Linked DNA regions of Homo sapiens: region 1 is linked to region 2. Evidence: promoter capture Hi-C in human tissues and cell types (Jung and others, 2019). All regions are on one chromosome and are shown on one strand. The core of a region is centred on a gene start or on the middle of the fragment in contact, and the rest is flanking DNA. Distances in the headings are between cores, read along the strand shown. Region 1 has its middle 23 kb from the start of ZNF701. Region 2 holds the start of ZNF845 (zinc finger protein 845).

Region 1 (2,727 bases), core at 96-2,595, 740 kb before region 2:
GGATTTTAAAATCTATCAAGGAAAAGTGCAATAAAATGCAACTATACAGAAAAAACTGTTCAAAAATACCTTAATGCGGCTTTGTCAGAACACCGTCTTGGATCAAATCGATACTTATTTTCTCTTTTCTCATTTCATGTGAAGGTGATGACTCACTCCTCCCTAATGTTTTGTTGAAATCTGTCTTTCATTTTAGGGACACTAGACTTTCAGGGATGTGGCTATAGATTTCTCTTTGGAGGAGTGGAAATGCCTGAACCCTGCACAGAGGGCTTTATACAGGGAAGTGATGTTGGAGAACTACAGGAACCTGGAGTTTGTGGGTGAGGAAAATATCCCTCCAGACATGAGGAATCTGCCCTTGTCTATCTTGGCTCTTCCTGGTTTTGTATTCTCTTTTGTGATGTTGCCCCATACATGCTTTTCATGTACATGTCATTGTTTTCTACAGTGATGACCCTCATATTTGTCATGGACAGCTTCTTAGAGACTCCCTTATGGAGTGGTTTTACATAAAACCAGAAAATTCATGAAGAACACTTTGACTAATAAGATTGAACATCATCCTGCTCTAGGCAGAGATGCCCCTGGAGGCCCTGAGCGGAATTGTCACCATGGCCCAGGATATGAGATAGAAAGCATCACACTGACTGACAAGTGTTTCCAGCTGCGCTTGTGGTTTTGTGTTTTTTGTTTCATTTTGTTTTTATGAGACAGAGTGTTGAACAGGTTGGAGTGCAGTGTCGTGATCTCAGCTCATTGCAACCTCCACCTTCTGGGCTCAAGCAATTCACATACCTGAGCCTCCCAACCTAACTGAAATTACAGATGCATGTCACCATACCTGGCTAATTTTGTATTTTTTTTATTTTTATTTTATTTTTATTTTTTTTATTGATCATTCTTGGGTGTTTCTCACAGAGGGGGATTTGGCAGGGTCACAGGACAATAGTGGAGGGAAGGTCAGCAGATAAACAAGTGAACAAAGGTCTCTGGTTTTCCTAGGCAGAGGACCCTGCGGCCTTCCGCAGTGTTTGTGTCCCTGGGTACCTGAGATTAGGGAGTGGTGATGACTCTTAAGGAGCATGCTGCCTTCAAGCATCTGTTTAACAAAGCACATCTTGCACCACCCTTAATCCATTCAACCCTGAGTGGATACAGCACATGTTTCAGAGAGCACAGGGTTGGGGGTAAGGTCACCGATAAACAGGATCCCAAGGCAGAAGAATTTTTCTTAGTACAGAACAAAATGAAAAGTCTCCCATGTCTACCTCTTTCTACACAGACACCACAACCATCCGATTTCTCAATCTTTTCCCCACCTTTCCCCCCTTTCTATTCTACAAAACCGCCATTGTCATCATGGCCCGTTCTCAATGAGCTGTTGGGTACACCTCCCAGACAGGGTGGTGGCTGGGCAGAGGGGCTCCTCACTTCCCAGTAGGCGCGGCCGGGCAGAGGCGCCCCTCACCTCCCGGATGGGGCGGCTGGCCTGGCGGGGGGCTGACCCCCCCACCTCCCTCCCGGAGGGAGCGGCTGGCCGGGCAGAGGGGCTCCTCACTTCCCAGTAGGGGCGGCTGGGTAGAGGCGCCCCTCACCTGCCAGATGGGGTGGCTGGCCGGGCGGGGGGCTGACCCCCCCACCTCCCTCCGGGACGAGGTGGCTGCCGGGAGGAGACGCTCCTCACTTCCCAGACGGGGTGGCTGCTGGGCGGAGGGGCTTCTCACTTCTCAGACGGGGCGGCTGCCGGGCGGAGGGGCTTCTCACTTATCAGACGGGGTGGCTGCCAGGCAGAGGGTCTCCTCACTTCTCAGACGGGGCGGCCGGGCAGAGACGCTCCTCACATCCCAGACGGGGTGGCAGGGCAGAGGTGCTCCCCACATCTCAGACGATGGGCGGCCGGGCAGAGACGCTCCTCACTTTCCAGACTGGACAGCCAGGCAGAGGGGCTCCTCACATCCCAGACGATGGGCGGCCAGGCAGAGACGCTCCTCACTTCCCAGATGGGGTGGTGGCCGGGCAGAGGCTGCAATCTCGGCACTTTGGGAGGCCAAGGCAGGCGGCTGGGAGGTGGAGGTTGTAGCGAGCCGAGATCACGCCACTGCACTCCAGCCTGGGCACCATTGAGCACTGAGTGAACGAGACTCCGTCTGCAATCCCGGCACCTTGGGAGGCCGAGGCTGGCGGATCACTCCCGGTTAGGAGCTGGAGACCAGCCCGGCCAACACAGCGAATCCCCGTCTCCACCAAAAAAATACGAAAACCAGTCAGGCGTGGCGGCGCGCGCCTGCAATCACAGGCACTCAGCAGGCTGAGGCAGGAGAATCAGGCAGGGAGGTTGCAGTGAGCCAAGATGGCAGCAGTACCGTCCAGCTTCGGCTCGGCATCAGAGGGAGACCCTGGAAAGAGAGGGAGAGGGAGACCATGGGGAGAGGGAGAGGGAGAGGGGACTAATTTTGTATTTTTATTAGAGATGGGATATGACCATGTTGGCCAGGCTGGTCTTGAACTCCTGGTCTCAAGCAATCCGCCTGCCTCAGCCTCCATCCAGGTGTTGGGATTATAGGCATGAGCCACCGCACCTGGCCTTTTGTTCTGTTTTTTTTGTTTTTTGTTTTTTGTTTTGAGACAGAGTTTCACTCTTGTTGCCCAGGCTGGAGTGCAATGGTGCGATCTCGGCTCACTGCAACCCCCACCTCCCAGGTTCAAGCGATTCTCCTGCTTCAA
Region 2 (2,700 bases), core at 1-2,500:
CAGTACCCGTATCTCGGTAGGAAATTAAATATTTCAAACATCAAATAATTCCAATGTAAATGTATGGATCTTTAAATAATTCTGAGCCTTGAAAGGAATGTGGTCATGCAAGCTGAGTCCAGTGGTATGCAGGCGCAACTTCTAAGAGTTTTCCTGGCCAGACGCGGTGGCTAACGCCTGTAATCCCAACACTTTGGGAGTCCGAAGCAGGTGGATCACTTGACGTCAGGAGTTCGAATCCAGCCTGGCCAACGTTGTGAAACCCAGTCTCTACTAAAAATACAAAACTATTAGCCAGGCTTGGTGGCGCGCGTCTGTAATCCCAGCTAGTTGGCAGGCTGAGGCAAGAGAACTACTTTAACCCGGGAGGTGAAGGTTGCAGTGAGCCGAGATCTCGCCACTGCACTCCAGCCTGGGTGACAGAGAAATACTCTGTCTCAAAAAAGAAAAGAAAAGAAAAGAAAAATCTAAATATAAAAATGAAAGTAATAGATCTCTTCCACAAATGTGCTGGGACAACTAACTGGATATCCACGTGAAAATGAATAATGTTGGATCCCTAACTCACAAAATCAAAAATTTTATTTAAAGAAATTTTAAAAAAGGAGAGAGAGAGAGACGAGGAAGGGAGCGCTGCCGGAGGAGGTGTTACTTTGTCGCCCAGGCTAACTTGGACCCCCCCCCCGGCTCAGCGATCCTCCTGCCACTGCTTCCTGAGTAGCTGGGACCTCAGGCTTTCGCCCCGCGCCCGCATCTCTGCTGTGTTTAAGCAGTAGGTGGTGACCTCACTCCTCCCTGGCCTGAGCACTCCGTCCCGCATCCCAGGGGGAGGCCCTAGGGAAATCTCTGAAGCTGAGGACAGGGTGGACTCTCCTTTCCCAGTGAATGGAGAATAGAAAGGGAGAGGATTTCTATTCTGTTCTGTGGGCCGTCAGCATGAAATCGTATGTTCCACCCAGGCAGGGCTTTGCATTTCACATTCTAGTTTGCATCCCCGTTTCAGACAATTCCAGGGCTTTTGAATCATGCCTCAGCCTTCCTGTCCGGTCTCGCCTCCAAAGCTCGAAAACAAGAGGCGCTGGGAGCGAGGTTGAGAGACGCACGGGTCCCACCCCGGCCCCGCCTTCTGCCAATTCTAAAGGGGAAGGTCTCTCCGCTTCGCGCCCCGCCCCTACCTCGCTCAGGCCCCGCCTACCTCCCCGCGGGTCCCGCCCAGGCCTGGCTTCTGTCCTGCGCGCGCAGATTCGCGCAAACCCGGAAGCGGATCGCATGGAGTGATGGTCCCACCGCAGCGGTGAGTTTTGCTCTGTGTTGTGTTAAGTCTGCGCTTCCCAAGTCCCCGGCGCTTCTGTACCTGGGACGTGGGGTCCCCATAGACCTGGAAATTCTCACCCGTGTTCCTTCACCTAGAGCAAATTTAGACGTCCTCGTCAGAGTCCAGGGGTCGCTTCCTTTTGGGTTTAAAGTCGCCCTGAGGATGGTCCCTTCCCGAATCTTTCTGCTATAGGGCAATGTATACACTTCCCATCGCGTAGTTTCCCTGCTCAAAACCTTTTTCTGACTCCTCCCGACCCGCACTTTTTAAAGTCCTTACCGCGAGGCGGATTCCCGCCCTTGGCGCCTCCCAGTCTTGTCTTAAGGCGCCGTCGCCCCCCACCTCCCTCCTCGTTCCAGGCCCTTATGCTCCCCAGGTCTCCCCACCGCAGTCACCGCTTACCCTGAGCCCGCGTTGGGGAGGTGCCCGGGGCTGTCCTATGACACCGGGTGTTCTTGCCTGCCCTGCACCAGCCCCTGGAAAATGCGCTCCTCCGGGATGCAGGCGTCTTACTCCAAAGCCCTCCTGTGATTGTGTTGGCCAAAGGGATCAGGAGACTGAGAGAGAGAGCAGTAGAAAACCTGAGACAGAGAAAAGAAGAATGAGAAAGACCATAACAGATGGCAAAGTAGAGGATGAGTGAGGGATTTGCCAAGAGAGAGCAAAAATGAAAAAAACAAAACAAAACAAAAAACAGCAGGAGGAGCAGATCCCAGGGAAAAAGAAAACAAGAGCTAGAGAGAGAAGGGGAGAATGAGAGATATGTACAGAATTAGGGAGGGAAGCACAGTAATGAAGAAAGGGGGGCTGGGCGCAGTGGCTCACGCCTGTAATCCTAGCACTTTAGGAGACTGGGGCAGAGGGATTGCTTGAGTCCAGGAGTTCAAGACCGGCCTGGGCAAAATAGTGAGACCCCCCCCCCCATCTCTGTCAAAAAAAAAAAAAATTTAACTGGGCGTGATGGTGCACACCTGTAATCCCAGCTGCTCTGGAGGCTGAGGCAGGAGGATCACTTGAGCCCAGGAGGTCCAGGCTGCAGTGAGCAGAGATCATGCCACTGCACTCCAGCCTGGTCAACAGAGCAGAGCCTGTCTCAAAAGATTAAAAGGGGTGGGGGACTTTGGGTTCAGATGAGTGGGTGAGTTCATTGGATATGATTAGTTGTGATATGTTGACTTCTGTTTATATAATCTAATAACTTAGAACTTGTTTAAATTATACAGATGATATTGAGAATTTTAAAATTCCTATCTATAAGACACATACATTCTGTAAATCTTGGCATTAGAGGTCAGCTTCCACTTGGAATCCCTATTCAGCCAGAGGGTAGTGACTTAATTCAATTGTGAGAGCCTCTCTTCCCTCTTCCCATGGTGAGGTAGGAA

Evidence for each region. Contacts are between HindIII fragments. The study calls those that stand out against the background at their distance.
Region 1: a contact is called between a fragment that was not itself captured here and the fragment with the promoter of ZNF845 in region 2, in 6 of the 25 tissues and cell types used here (adrenal gland, liver, ovary and 3 more).

What each region holds. Positions count from the first base shown.
Region 1 is chr19:52,591,906-52,594,632 of GRCh38, forward strand. It overlaps a transcript of ZNF701 not described here. Among named protein-coding and RNA genes, the nearest start is that of ZNF701, 23 kb to the left of the region's middle. The HindIII fragment of the contact is 6,608 bases long and covers 1-2,727 here.
Region 2 is chr19:53,332,499-53,335,198 of GRCh38, forward strand. It overlaps ZNF845 (zinc finger protein 845), which reads left to right and starts at 1,251. Exons shown (of 4, transcript NM_138374.3): 1 at 1,251-1,294. RefSeq lists enhancers at 367-1,231, 1,330-1,379, 1,650-1,739 and a silencer at 1,040-1,259. The HindIII fragment of the contact is 26,552 bases long and covers 1-2,700 here.